2 separate regions of the Homo sapiens genome follow, and region 2 is linked to region 1. The links are contacts of gene promoters, found by promoter capture Hi-C in blood cells and fetal thymus (Javierre and others, 2016). All regions are on one chromosome and are shown on one strand. The core of a region is centred on a gene start or on the middle of the fragment in contact, and the rest is flanking DNA. Distances in the headings are between cores, read along the strand shown. Region 1 holds the start of HORMAD2 (HORMA domain containing 2). Region 2 holds the start of CABP7 (calcium binding protein 7).

Region 1 (7,256 bases), core at 1,353-3,852:
AACTTCTGGGCTCAAGCAATACTCCTTTCTTAGCCTCCCAAAGTGCTGGGATTATAAGTGTGAGCCACTGCAACTGACCCTCACTCTTACATTTGATATGTCTACTTTGTGACAAGGATTATGATCTTCTTGAGAAAGAGGCAATATTTCTATGCTCTTTCTGGTAAAGATTCACTCTAGGCTTACCTCTTGACCTATATCTCAATTGCCCTATTTTTTTTGTTGTTGTGTATTCATTTTCTTTTCTTTTCTTTTCTTTTTTTTTTTTTTGAGACAGAGTAAAGTGCGGTGGCATGATCTGTCACCTAGGCTGGCATAATCACAGCTCATTGCAACCTCAAACTTCTGGGCTCAAGTGATCCTCCTATCTCAGCCTTCCAAGTAGCTGAGACTATATGCATGCACCACCATGCCCTGCTAATTTTTAAAAATTTTTTATTTTTGTAGAGTTGGGCGGGCGGGTGGAGGGGGAGGTCTCACTATGTTGCCCAGACTGGCCTCGAACTCTTGGCCTCTCAAAGTTTTGGGATTACACATATGAGACACCACACCACGCCTTCAATTGCCCTATTTTATATGGTGGCACAATTACTTCCTATTTTACCCCTACTATGTGTGAGTCCAAGATTCACATAAAGATTAGCCAGCTGCTGTTTAGTTTACTAAGGCCTAAACCACTTTTTTAACCATTCCAAGTGAAGCAAAAGCCAAAGTTTTATTACATTTTCCCAAATATAATCATAGTTGATTTATGAAGGCTCTCTACCCATCTTTCTCAATCTTCAAAAACCGTTTTTTACAAGAAAATCCCTTTTCTATCAGGTGAACACTATCCAATAGCTGGATTCTGAAATGTAACTATATTACCTTCCTTACACATGCATGTTGTTAAGAATGGCTTTACTCAAAAGAAGTGTACGTTAACATAAATGGGTTCAATAGATTCCTAAAGCTGGAAGGGAGCACAGACATCTTCCAACCCCTTTGATTTAAAGAAGATCCAATTCTGTGGAGGAAGAATCTTTTTTTCAGCAAATGATGCTGAAACAAAAGGACATCTGGAGGGTGGGGGGAAGAACAGAGAATTAAAAGAAACTTAACCTAAATCTCACACTGTATACAAATATTAATGCAAAATGGATCATGGATTTAAACCTAAACATAAAACTATAAAGAAAAGGGGCCAGGTGCAGTGGCTCACACCTGTAATCCCAGCACTCTGGGAGGCCGAGGTGGGAGGATCACGAGGTCAAGAGATCGAGACTATCCTGGCCAACATGGTGAAACCCTGTCTCTACTAAAAATAAAAAAAAATAAAAAAATTTAGCTGGGCGTGGTGGTGCACACCTGTAGTCCCAGCTACATGGGAGGCTGAGGCAGGGGAATCGCTTGAACCCGAGAGGTGGAGGTTGCAGTGAGCTGAGATTGCGTCACTGCACTCCAGCCTGGCACAGAGCTCGACTCCATCTCACAAAAAAAAAAGAAAAAAGAAAAGGAAAGTGAGGCTAAGCAAGGGAACTTGGTTTGCCAAAGTTCGCCCAATTACTTAGACCTTCCAACAGAGCTTGCTTCAATAAATTATTCACCATTTTAACAAATTCCATTTGGCCCTGGTAATTCCCCTACCTGTGCTCATTCAGAGAAAATGGCTTCCACTATATTAATTGAGTATTTGTTCATGCTCTTTTGACTTTTTAATATCTTTTTCATGCTATTTCAATTATTCATTCATTCAACATCTACGAGGCAACTACAATGTGCCAGGCAACAACATGCAGGATTACGAGATGTAAAATACTGTTCCTACCTCAACAGATTGATGGTCCAATGGAGGAGAAATTAGATTATGATCCTGCTGAGATTAAAAACCCCTTTAGGGGCCAGAACCACCCCTCATTTCTACCAGCTGAGTACACGATGTACTGCACAGCCTGTCCAGTGCCCTGCGTACTCGGACACATTTTGGCGATTGGCTAATCCTGAGGTTCAAGACTCTCTCCCTCTGTTTAGGGAACTAAAGTCCATAGGGATTAATTGGCAAATCCTCACTAAAGTGAAAGGGGAGCTGAGGTCAAGGGGGGCGGGGTGTCTTGTCCCCACCTCTCTCACCTCTTGGCCTGTACCAGGCATCGATCCTGGCAGAAAACCTCAATGGCTGGGGAGAATCTGACCCAGGTAAGATAAACTTCCCCAAAGCTCCACCACACACGGCCCCCTCCAATGTCGGGCACAGACATCGTCTGCCCTGCCAGCCTCATCATGGCTCATTATGGCTGCTGCTTGCTCAGCAAGTTTGATTTCATGTCCAGAAAAATCTGAATTTCAAAACTACCTGGGTGCTCTCTGTCCAGTTCTGGGGGAAATCGCCTCCCTTTTGCCTTCCTCCTCAGCCCCCTGCCCTCCCGATTCTCTTCACAGTACTTTAGGCCCTCACGAAATATGATACTTTCAAATCCAACTTAAAGCCTTAAGTAATAAGAAAAGAAAAAAAAATTGTTTTTTGACATAAAGACAGAACTAACAACGCCCGAGTGCCCTCTCTGGGCCGAGACCTCGCGTCTCAACAGCCCTCACCTCAGCTCGTCGACGCTTCCCTCCCACCGGGGGTCAACGGCCTTTTCCGGCCCAAACCCGCTCCTCGGCTCATGAATAGTCAACGAGGCCTTTCTGGGCGGGACCAGAGGTTTCCTCATGAATAATTCATGACCCGTCCACGGCTAGCCTGGGCGACCGGCCTCGCTAGACTTCATGAATATGCAAAGCAGGGGCGAACGGCGGCTAGCCGGCCCCTAGCCCGCCCGGCCCCTCAGCAGCCGCCTCTCAGCCACGGGCTGCACACTGACCCGACGCGACCTTCGGTCAGGGGCCGCCAGCCTGGGCCACCTATACAACGACAGCCTGCTCCGGGGCTTCCTGAGGAGGTGCCTGCCCCGCCGAGGTTAGGACCCGAGGGACCGTGGGGCTCGGGCGGGCCAGGACGCCAGGCCGGCGGGTCCCAGAGAGGTCTGAGGCGGGCGCGGGGCGGCGTAGGGGAGGGAAGCGAGAGCCTGGGGGGCCCAGGGACCCGAGTTAGAAGAAGGCCCGAGAAGTGCGGCGCGGTGGCTCCACCTGGGATCCCAGCACTCTGGGAGGCTGAGGCGGGCGCGTCACTTGAGGTCAGGAATTCGAGACCAGCCTGGCCAACATGTTGAAAACCCGTCTCTACAAAAAATACAAAAATTAGCTGGGCGTGGTGGCGCGCGCCTGTAGTCCCAGCTACTTGGGAAGCTGAGGCACGAGAATCGCTTGAGCCCAGGAGGCTGAGGTTGCAGTGAGCCGAGATTCCGCCATTGCACTCCAGCCTGGGCGACAGAGCGAGACTCCGTCTCAAAAAAATTTTAAAAAGTACAAAAATTAGCTGGGCCACCTGACGTGCGCCTGTAGTCCCAGCTGCTCGGGAGGCTGAGGTAGGAGGATCGCTTGAGCCGGGGAGTTTGAGGTTGCAGTGAGCCAAGATCGTACCATTGCACTCCAGCCTGGGCAACAGAGGGAGACCCTGTCTCAAAAATAAAAAAAAAGAAAAGAAAGAAAAAAGACATAAGGCCAGAAGGCCAGAGCTTTCCAATACTTGAGGGCATCTGCAACCTCTTCATCCCTACCCTGGACCTGACTTTGCATTCTTTTTAACATTAATTTGTAATTATGCAAATAAAACATAAATATATTCTCCTTTGTGCCCTACCCCTAATCTCAGTTTTTTCTGCCCTGGTAACTGTGGGAGCAGTTGGGGGTGTGGCTCCTTGGATCGTTTCTCACCTGTTTAGGTAGATATTTCGTATCCTGTGGTGCTTTCCAAAGGCTCCTGGAGTCCCATGAACCTCCCCAAGGGGATTTCCCAAGAGAGTAGATGAAAGAGTGAGCCACTTGAAACCTGTTCTTATTTTGTTTCTGCAGGAAAGAAAAAAAAAACTATTCAAGTTGGCGAGAACATGAGTTTAGAACATAATGACTAAAACTGAAATTTGGGCTGAAATATTCTTTTAGTGCAAGTTTTCTCAACCTTCTCCCCACCCCCACCATCATAACAACCAAAAATTTCTCTAGACTTTGCCAAATGTCCCATGGGGTGTGCAAAATTGCCCTCTGTTGAGAACTACTGCGTTCACCCTATACTTTCCGGAAGTAACTGCTTTTTAAGCTCCAACCACACAGATGGTTTGTCTGCACCAGCCCTTCTCAGCCTCCGCATTTACCAGCCTCTCTGGCTGGATCACTAGGCCCTCTGTGCTGGCTGTTCTAATTTTCTTCTGCCTTCAGATCTGAGCTCAGTCAACTGCTACCATATCCAAAGACTTACCCCTCTCTGCCCTATACTATTGGCAGTCTACCCCACCAGCAAACACAGTTATTCGTTATTCTGTTTCTTTCATAGAATTTCTCTCAATCTAATTTTTTTTTTTTTTTTTTTTTTTTTTTTTTGTGAGACAGAGTCTTGCTCTGTCACCCAGGCTGGAGTGCAGTGGCGTGATATTGGCTCGCTGCCACCTCCACCTCCCAGGCTCAAGTGATTCTCCTGCCTCAGCCACCTAAGTAGCTGGGGTTACAGGCATGCATCACCATGCCCGGCTGATTTTTGTATTTTTAGTAGAGATGGGGTTTCACCATGTTGGCCAGGCTGGTCTTGAACTCCTGACCTCAAGCAATCCACCCACCTCAGCCTCCCAAAGTGCTAGGATTACAGGCTTGAGCCCCCAAGCCCAGCCATGGACTTCATTTCTTTGATAACCTGTTTTGTTTTTTTCTCTCTATCACCTGGAATAAGTAAGTAAGTGTCATCAGAGGCCTGATCTGGCGGAGTCGCCCCAGGATGCCCAGTGCTGGCACACACAGTAGGCACTCAATAGACATTGGTGGACTGAAATTATAAATTACCCTGTTTTCCTCCGAAGAGCTTCTGTGGAGTTTCTCTTACTTCTTTCCTTCCTCACCATTTGGCAGGCTCCTTGTGACCAAAGGAATGGATTAATAAGCCCCTGTGCCTGGCCCCTGTGCTAGGAGCTGTTGGGTAAAGCCTTCATCTTTACCGCTGGCTTAACTCCTTGAGGTCAAGAGCTGTTATTTTTACTTCTTTTATTATGTTCATTGAAGGTATTCAAATAGATACCTGAATTAACTGTTCCTCAGTGAACATTGAAGGTATTCAAATAGTTGAATGAATGAATCGGTTACTTAAGGAACAACATTAGATAATTAAACATTGACAGTGTTACAGGGGGCTTTAGAAATACTCCAAGTCTAGTCCTTTACTTTACAGATGAGAATATAAGTAATTTGCTCAAGGTCCCTAAGCTTCTTAAGAGGCCGGGTCACATGTACAACCCATGGTCTCATACCTCTTATTTTGAGACTCTTTCTTGTCTCCAGTCAGGCTAGTTTCTGATTACTTTTCTGTGAACCTGACTTACAACTCAGACACAGAAGTCCCAAGCCAAATACTCGCTTCTTGTCAACTAAAAAGGCTTTGAGCCTGTGCTTTTTCATCTTGATTAAATACAGCCCTGGGGATAATGGCCTAATGAACTCAAAAGTGCTATATGATATTCAAACAACTTCCCAGCTTCCTTTGTACCTTTCAGTGATAAGAGACTGGGAATTGTCCCTGTCAAAGCATTTTGTTTGTTTTGCAAGTAGAAAATGTGCATTGTGGCAGAACTTGATCAGTTTAGAAATTTCCAAATAACCAGAATTTTGACAAAGGTAAAAAGTCTCCAGCTGAAGTTTTGCCAAACCCCAGTAGTAAAATAACACATGACACAGGTGAAAATAGAGGAGGGAATCTTATTTGAGATGACTTTCATTGGCTAAATTTGACCTTTCTCTCTTTAGACACATTTACATCACCTGACTCTGTACCTGAAACAGTTGTCAGTCACCAATCAGTCTCTAGTTTGAGCTTTGTTTTTTGAGGGCTAAGGACCATTTTTCGTTGTTAGTTAAAAAGAATTCAGGGTTTCTTTCTTGTTCTTCTTGATCATTTCATATAGGCAGCACCTGGTTAGGGGAGTCTTGGCGTCATGCTTTCAGTTTTTAGACCTTTATAGTTTATTCCGAGGCATCTGACAGTGCACTGTGTCACCAGAAGCAGAGCTATCTTTTTTTTTTTTGAGATGGAGTCTCACTCTCTCGCCCAGGCTGGAGTGCAGTGGTGCAATCCCGGCTCACTGCAACCCTCCGCCTCCCGGGTTCAAGCTATTCTCCTGCCTTAGCCTTCTGAGTAGCTGGGATTACAGGCATGCGCCACCACACCCAGCTAATTTTTGTATTTTTGGTAGAGACGGGGTCTCACCATGTTGGCCAGGCTTCTCTCGAACTCCTGACCTCAAGTGATCTGCCCACCTCAGCCTCGCAAAGTGCTGGGTTTACAGGCGTGAGCCACTGCGCCTGGCCAGCAGAGCTATCTTTTGCCTACCTAAAATGATCGGAACTCTGCTCATCAAGTTCAGTTTAACCTTGGAAATCCTCCCCCAAAAAATGGTTCATTGGAGGGTTATCAAAATAGAAATATTGAATATAAAATATCTTCCCAGGAGGATATTTCCCATTAGATGTGTCTCCCTCTTCAGTGTACACAATCGTGATACCAAATATAGAGAAAAAGAGATTGGGATGGAGGGAGCAGCTAAGTAGGAAGGGTAGTTTCTTTATTTGTTTTCAACATTTATTGGAACTCTGAAAAGCATAATGTCCAGTTATGAAGTTGACACCACCACATTCATTCATCAAGCATTTATTTTGTACCTACCATTAATAAAGCACTCTACCTTGCACTGCGGGGATCACAGAGGTAATGACTTGGTCCCCAAACTATGGAATTCTACAGTTTAGTGAGAGAGGGAGATCTGTGATACTAATGGAGGTATAAAGTATATGATAGAATGTAGAGAAGGAAGCTACACATTCTGAATTGGGAATCAAGACAGCTTTACAAAAGAGGTGACATTTTTAGGAGGAGAGCATGTGTATATCATTTTCTTTACTTGTTCTTTGGCAATGGTTAGAATACCTCAAACCAATAAAAGCAGACATTTTGCCCACCACTTTAGAATGAGGAGAGAAAAGGAGGTGTAAGATCCTTTCTTTCCACTCCTGGCAGCAACATGCTTCTGAAAGCTAAATGTTGCTTTTGCAATTCCAAGTGTCTCACTTACGATTAAGAGAAAAGCTGAGTAGAGAGAGTCCTCCCTCATCTTTGTCCCCTTCCTCAGTAAGGTTAAGTT
Region 2 (7,256 bases), core at 2,318-4,817, 360 kb after region 1:
CCTGGAGGTCTGACTCCTTCCTCCTCTCTTCGGCCAGAAAGGGCTAAGACTTGCAGCCACCCCATTCCCACCCTTGGGTGCTCGAGTCAGCTGATGGTGCTGGGACCAGCCTCAGTGTTCCTGGAGGACTCTGCTGTGTGTGTATGTTGGAAAAGGTGTATGTCCCAGCCATGGTGGGCACACAGAGGGGATCTAAGAGAGTCCGTGCCTGTCCCTCACAGGGCCTGGGTGGGCCTCAGGCCAGCTCTGTGCAGCCACATTCCTACCCTGCCAACTGCCCTCCATGCCTCCCCAGGGCCACAGGTCCCCAGAGACCTTTTCCAGACCTTCAAGGCCTTTTCCACCCAGCTCTCCCTGCCAGCCTGCCCTTCTGGCTCAGCCTCCTGCACACCCTCACGGGCCTGGGCCCTGCACGCTCCAGCCTCTTACCCCCGCAGGGCCTCCCCTCATGTTGCATCTGGGTCCCTGAGCCCCCTGTGCTAGGTAGGTACTTTCACTGCATCCTCCATCACCAGCCCCCCTTTTATAGGTGGGGAAACCAAGGCTCAGAGAGGTGAGCGATTGCCCAAGGTCACTCCATGAGCTGAAGGTGCAGAGACTCAAACCCAGCGCCGCCTGGCTGGGAAGCCCTCATCTTAACTCTGTGCTTCCCACCTCCCTGCCTGGTCCTCCTTTCCGCTCAGACTGACCGCCCCCTGGATTTCTGCGGCAGGCACGTACTGTCTGCAGCATTCCATCCCGGGCTGCCCAGCTCCCTCTTCCTGGCACATGTGGCTCCTCCGCGAATGGCGTCCTCCCGGCAGAGGGCCTGGGTCTCGCCCAGACCGCCCTGGGGCAGGAGCACTCATGAGGCCCTGCAGAGGCGGAGAGGGCAGAGGGGGATCCGTGCCAGGAATGGCCAGCCCTGGCATTCAAGGACTGCTGAAAGGGACCTGGGGCCGCCAGAGGGCTTTTAGGGCACCTGCAGCCAAGAAGGGGGCTGGTCATGGAAAACTTCTTGCCTTCATCTGTAGCTGCCCACTGGGCCAGAGATGAGCTGGGACCACCCAGGCATCTGTCTACTCCATGACCCCACCTGCCCATCCCAGGGAGGGCCCTGCCCTTCAGATGCCCCCTGAGTCAGGGCCCCTCAGCTCCCCAGGGCCCAGGAGAAGGGGACAGGAGAGAAGCGGGGAGGGCACTTGTTGTGGCTGGTGACTAACGCAGCTGGGCTCCTGCCAGCACGCCATGTCGTTGGTTGGGGAGCCTGCGGCCTTGCCCCTGCACTGCCCACCCTGCGGCCCCTCGCCCCTGCAGCCAGCCTCTCAGCCTCTCCCCTTCCTCAGGGAGTGCACTCCAGGACTGGGGATCAGGAGAGGAGGGACCCAGAAAGGGCTGGAGTTGGGGTGGTGGGGTCCTGGTGGGGGTGCTGGGAGCAAGGGGAGGGAGTGAAGCGGAAGCTGCCTGGGGTCTGGGAGACATGGTGACTCCTGCTTGGATGGTCAGGAGGAGGGGATGGATGAGGGCCTCTGGAGGGAAAAATCTGCAGGAGGTTTGAGGTGGCCCAGGGCCGGAGGGGACAAAGGTGGGGAGGAGAAGGCCTATGCTCCATCTCCTGACCTTTCGCCCCCCACCATCGTACCCCTCCTTTCCCCGGGCTCTGGAGGAGGCTCTGGCCCTGGGTTTTAGGGGTGAATGGTGAGGTCATGTCGGGGGGCCCCAATCATCCATCTGTCCTGTCCGCATCAGACCCCAGACCCTGTCTCCACAGCTCTCCCCGCTTCTGAGGGTTTGCAGGGGCAGTTGGTGAGGAGCCTGGTGGCTCATGCCTATGGTGCAGTGAGCGAGGCAGAGGCTGCCTTCTCTCTCTGGATCTTCCCCCGACCCATTCTGACTCCTCTAAGATCTGCCCTCACCCTGGGCCTGGGTTGAGGGAGGACCTCCCTCCATGGCTTCCCCTGGGCTCCCACCATCCTCCCTGACTGTGCTGGTCTTGGCTGCACCCTCCCAGGCCCTAATGAGCCTCCAGATCTCAGAGACCCCTGGATCCAAGGTACCCCGAGAGGCCCATCCTCTGGGTGAGCTCAGCCCCTTGCAACAGCAGACATGCAGATCCCAGGAGGCCGTGACCCCCATCAGCCCAGATCCCCCACTCCACTCCATATGGGGGCTCCAGGAGGTCTGGGGGGAGGGGAAACCTCAGCACCTCCCCCAGCCCAGCAGGGAAGGAGCTGGGCGGGCCCCAGGGGTCTCACTGCTCCTCAGGACACACTGTCCCGGACCCCTGCCCCTGCCCTCTGCTCTGACCTCGCCCAGCCAGCGGCCTGCCATCCCCCTGCGAGTCTGAGAGGCAGGGGGAACGGGGTGGGGGCGGGTTTGGGTCCTGGCCTCTCTGCCTTTCCCTTCCAGGCTTGGCTATCGCGACTTAGCCGCCCAGTCCGGCCACTTGTTGTCGCCACCGCCTCCCGGGCCGCCTTCCCGGCGCGCCGGGCTGGGGGTCCCCGCAGGGCTGCAGGGAAGGGGCTACGGCCGCAGGTGGGGACGGGGGCGGCCCCGCAGCGGGCAAGAGCAGGGCAGTCGCCCTCTCCCCTTCTGCTGCTGCCCGAGCAGATTGAATTTTTAAAGCGACACGAGCGGAATGTCAATGCGAGCAGAGAGCCGCGGGCGGGCGCCGCGGAGGGGATCAGGATGCGGGTGCTCCGGCCGGGCCGGCGCTGGGGGCTCAGCGCGGACCCCCGCCCCAGTCCGCCGCGTTGCCGCACCGTCACCGCCGACTGCGCGGCCCCGTGACCCCGCTGCGGGGCCCGGCAAGTTTCCGCAGCGCTGGGGACCACGCGGGCAGGGGCTGGGCCGCTCTCCGCCTGAGCGACCCCCACCGCGGCGCCCCGGGGTGCGGACAGGTCTTGCCGCGGGGCACAGCTGCTAGCTGGGGCGCCCACCTGGCAACCGGCACCTGCGGACCGCCCCCCGCCCCCCGCCCCCGCGCCCCTGGCCCGCGCTTCACCTGGGCGCACAGGTAGGAGGGCCGCCGGGGCGGGGATCCCGGCGGACACTCACCCTCCAGCTCGTCCTCCGGGATGTCCACCGGGCGCTGCTCCGACAGCAGGTTGGGCACGGTGTAGATGCCCCGGTACATCAACGCCGCCGTCACCGGGTGGAACGGCATCTTGGAGGCTCCGCGCCCGCCCGCCCGCCGCAAACTTTGAGGCCGGGGCTCATGGGCCGGTGGCGGCCCCGGGGGCGGCTGGAGCGGGCGGGGCGCGCGGCTGCGGAGGGCGGCGGCGGCAGCGGCGAGGCTGGGGACGCCCCTCCGGGGGCCTAGCGCCCCCGCGCCCCGGGCCGCCGGGCCATGCCGCCCGCTCCCTCGTCGGGCTCCCAGCCGGGGCCCCGCAGGGGCAGCGGGGGCGGCGCCGCTCTGGCCTTTCCGAGAGCTCCGGCTGCCTCGCGCGGTGCCCGCCGCGCCCGCTCCTCGGTGCCCCGCGCGCTCCGCGCTGCTCGCCGCCCGCTAGTCCGCTCGCCGGCGCGGCCGCTACCGGCCCGGCGCTCAGGCTGTAGCCGCCTCTCCGCTCGCTCGCTCGCTCGTTCTGTGCCGCGCTGGCTGCGCTCCCCGCCTCCCCCGCCAGCCGCCCGCCCGCCCCCTCCGCGCTCCCCACCCCCAGCCCGCCCCTTCCCGCCGCCGGCCCCTGAGCGGCCGCCCCAAACCTGCCCGGGGCTCCTTCTCCCCTTCGGCCCCGATTCCCCTTTCCCACTAGGGCTCCCCTCTGTTCACTGGCTCTCCTCACCCTAAGTCTGCAGCCACCAGGACCAGGGAGGGGGTGGGTTGCGGGGGTCCTCCTTCCTGCCCCTTGGCTCACCTTCCCCCATCCACGCACCAGGAGCGGAGAGCCCGGAACTAAGAACTGTAGACCCAGAGAGGTGAGACTGGCCCCAAGCACCTGGGTCCTCAAGAAGAGTCACCGTTTCCGTGCCAGGAGGATCCAAGGTGGGGAAACTGAGGCTGAGAGAGAAGGACGTTGACCAAGGTCACAGGGCAGGAGCAGCAGGTAAGAGCTGGGTACACGTCTGGGGTAGGCTTCCTGCCCTGCCTGTGACTGACACCCTGCCGCTGACCTTGCTCCCCACAATGGGGCCCCAGTCCCGGACCCTTCCCAAGCCCCTACCTTTCAGCTTGCAGAAGAGGAGCCAAAGTGTCTCATGGCCCCCAGGGCAGTTCGGGACAGAGACATGGCCCGGTGCCTGTGGGGTCTGGTGTGAGGGCCTGCCAGTTCACATGGCTGCAGCTCAGACCTAATGTATGTGCAGGGCTTCCCCAGGCCCCAGGGCACGTCGGCACCCCAGAGCTGGGGTGGGGGCAGGTGTTTGAGGGAGCAGCCTGCGTGTGCATATGTCTGCTATCCATGAGGGTGTGTATGTGCCACTGGGCACGTGCGCAGGTGTCTGTGACTCCATATGCAGATGGACAAATGTCGGGAGTGTGTGGCCACCTGTGTGTGCCAAGGTTGTACGCTGGCAGGTCGGGGGAGGTGTGCAGGCCCTGGGGCTGGGAGTGGTGTGGGCATATGGTGCACAGATGTGCATGGGAGGGGGTGACCTTCTGGCCTGGCTGTGGCCCCATCTCTGGGTGCTTCCCTGAATCCCCCTACTGGGACCACCTCCCTGCCCCCTTTGGCCCAATCAGCTAAAGGTCCCAGCAGGAACGCTGATTGCACAGCCCTGCCCGGTCCTGCCCTGCCCTTCCCAAGCTGATTACACTTTTCTGCTTGTTTCTGTTTTTGTTACTGATTAATCGCAGCCTTGTCTCAGGGTCTGGGGAGAAGGGGCTCAGTGAGAGATGCTAGCCCCAGCCAAGCGGGGTTGGGTCAGCCTGGGCCCAGCACTTCCTGGGCCCTGCTCTGGAGGGAGCTCCTAGAAACATCTATAACCTGCGGAGGAGCCAGGAAGGACACCAGCTGTCTGTCTGTCTCCCCAGACCTCTCCGGGCTAGCTGGTTGCCCACTGGGACCTGGGCCTGGAGGTGAGAGAGGCCCCAGAAAAGCTCCCACCCCACTCCAAAGCTCTCCTTGCCCACCTGTCCCATCTTCTGACCTTCCACCGCTAGAGCTGAATGCCTTGAGCTTCCCCAGTGTTTTTGATGGAGCAGAGACTTGAGGAAGTAAGAACCCAGCACCAAGAGCCAGGCAGACTGGGGCTTCTGCATCCACCATCTCCTCACCATGGAACTACAGTCAGGTCCCTTAACCGGCCATAGCCTCAGTTTCCCTGCCTGTTAAGGTGGCAGTGCCACATCCCAGGCAGCGGTGAGGATGAAGTGACATAATGTAGGAAAGGTGCCGGGCATCACCTCCCTGAAACTCTTGGGAGTTTCCTATTAGCATGAACATCCCCCCCAAGGAATAGGAATTAATAATAATTATAGCTTCGAGTATTGATTGAGAGAGCGAGCCGCAGCAGCAGCTCAGTCGTTCCACGTTTACTAAGTGTCCAGGCTGTGCCAGCCCAGGCCTGTCAGTTCTAAATCAGAACCCCTGGGCCAAGGGAGAGTGGGCTAGAGCCTGCTGAGAGGCTGGCAGGAAACCCAGCTCCCAGTGACTCCCTGGGAGGCCGCTGCAGAGCGTGTTGGTACTCGCCCTGTGAAGGGGAAGCTCCTGGGCTTGCTGTCCAGGTGGGTATTTTTTTTTATTTTTTTAGGTGGAGTCTTTCTCTGTTGCCCAGGCTGGATTGCAGTGGCATGATCTCGGCTCACTGCAACCTCCGCCTCCCAGGTTCAAGTTATTCTCATGCCTCAGCCTCCCGAATAGCTGGGACTACAGGCACATGCCATCACACCCAGCTAATTTTTGTATTTTTCGTAGAGAACATGTTGGCCAGGCTGGTCACAAACTCCTGACCTCAAGTGATCTACCCGCCTTGGCCTACTAAAGTGCTGGGATTACAGGCGTGAGGCACCACTCCCAACCCATGGTGGCTTTTTTTTTTTCAAGTCAAGGGAATTCCAGGGGTCAAGAGGAGGGTGGGCAAAAGCTCAGAAGTGTGAGAGGGCCTCTCTTAGCTCTGAAGGGCAGGTCTGGGTCTGGGTTCTCCAGATCTCCTACGCTTGGCACAGGACTGGAATGGGCTAAGGTGGCTGGGGCTGGATGAACATCTGTCAAATGAATGAACGAGAGAATTAGTGAATGAACGACTGCCCGCTCACCACCGCCCCCCGCCCTTCGGCATTGCAGCCCCGTCCTCTCCTCTGTGCGTCACGGGGGAGCAGATGGCATGATCACAGGGTGTGAATTATGTCTGTCGCTCCCCCATCTGGGGAAGGTGCTGCTGCCATCACACTGCACTCTCTGGGGTGCCCACCGGGAGATGCCTGAGCCTCAGGTCCTCCCAAGAGGGGTTCTCCACAGGCCTTGCTAACTAATCATTGGGTCAGGAGGCTAGAGACACTGGGAGAGGTGACACGCTGAAACCTGTGATTCCAGGGGGGTTCCCCAAGTGGGAAGGAGACAAGGGGAGAGAGGTGGGAACTGCCATGTTCAGAGGCCAGACTCTTCCCTCCCTGAGACTGGAGCCCACTCCTTTCAAGAGCAGCACAGTCCCTGCCCTCCCTGGCCAGAGACCTCTTGTCCGAGGCCAGCATCCTCTTGCCACATTCAGCACCAGGGAGAGCTCCCAGCAGAGCTCAGGGCCCAGCTGTGTAGAGTGAAGCTGTGGAGGGACCCACAAGAGCCGGCCAAGGCTATCAATGAACCCATTGTCCAAACGAGGAAATCAAAGTGAAGAGGGTGTAAGCTTCAAGTTCAAGATCATGCTGGGACCAATAATTGCAGCCCTACCCAAGCCAGGGCTCCTGCTGGGGGAGAAGGTACTGGAGGAGGGGAGGTAGTGGTGGTAGGGAGGGGATGTCCAGGGAGGGCAGAGGCTATGGCCTCTGCTCCTAGGCTGAGGAACAATATTGTTCCAAGAACGCACTGGGGACAGTGTCTGGAGGTGAATAAAATATTCATTGTCCGGGCAAACTCCCGAAGTCAACTAATGAATAATGGAATTTATAGACTCAAAGATGCACACCGGGCTGAGAGGGGGTGCAGGCCAGAACCCAGAGGCCCCAACTGCTCAGATCCCTGCTCTTCTCTGGCTACCCCCCTCTGAACGCCCACATGCCCAGCTCTTGAAGGTGACAGGAGCGGAAAGGACAACAGGGAACAGAGTCCATGTGAGGGAAACAGAGTGAAGGGGACAGGCCCTTGAATTTGTTGCTATTGGGGGAAGGAACTTGGTGATGGGAA

The links. Contacts are between HindIII fragments. The CHiCAGO score rates a contact against its expected background, and 5 or more counts as called.
Region 2: the fragment with the promoter of CABP7 here is called in contact with the fragment with the promoter of HORMAD2 in region 1 in 6 of 17 cell types (endothelial precursors, M0 macrophages, erythroblasts and 3 more); the score reaches 7.5 in endothelial precursors.

The regions. Positions count from the first base shown.
Region 1 is chr22:30,075,810-30,083,065 of GRCh38, reverse strand. HORMAD2 (HORMA domain containing 2) reads right to left here and starts at 2,602. Exons shown (of 11, transcript NM_152510.4): 1 at 2,575-2,602. It overlaps HORMAD2-AS1 (HORMAD2 and MTMR3 antisense RNA 1), which reads left to right and starts at 2,809. Exons shown (of 5, transcript NR_110541.2): 1 at 2,809-2,938. RefSeq lists enhancers at 2,532-2,611, 2,449-3,146, 4,321-4,400 and silencers at 2,952-3,001, 4,451-4,570. The HindIII fragment of the contact is 6,725 bases long and covers 1-5,330 here.
Region 2 is chr22:29,716,314-29,723,569 of GRCh38, reverse strand. It overlaps CABP7 (calcium binding protein 7), which reads right to left and starts at 3,567. Exons shown (of 5, transcript NM_182527.3): 1 at 3,037-3,567. The coding sequence starts at 3,145. CABP7-DT (CABP7 divergent transcript) reads left to right here and starts at 3,667. Exons shown (of 3, transcript NR_186695.1): 1 at 3,667-4,022. RefSeq lists an enhancer at 1,468-2,258 and a silencer at 6,543-6,743. The HindIII fragment of the contact is 23,163 bases long and covers 1-6,761 here.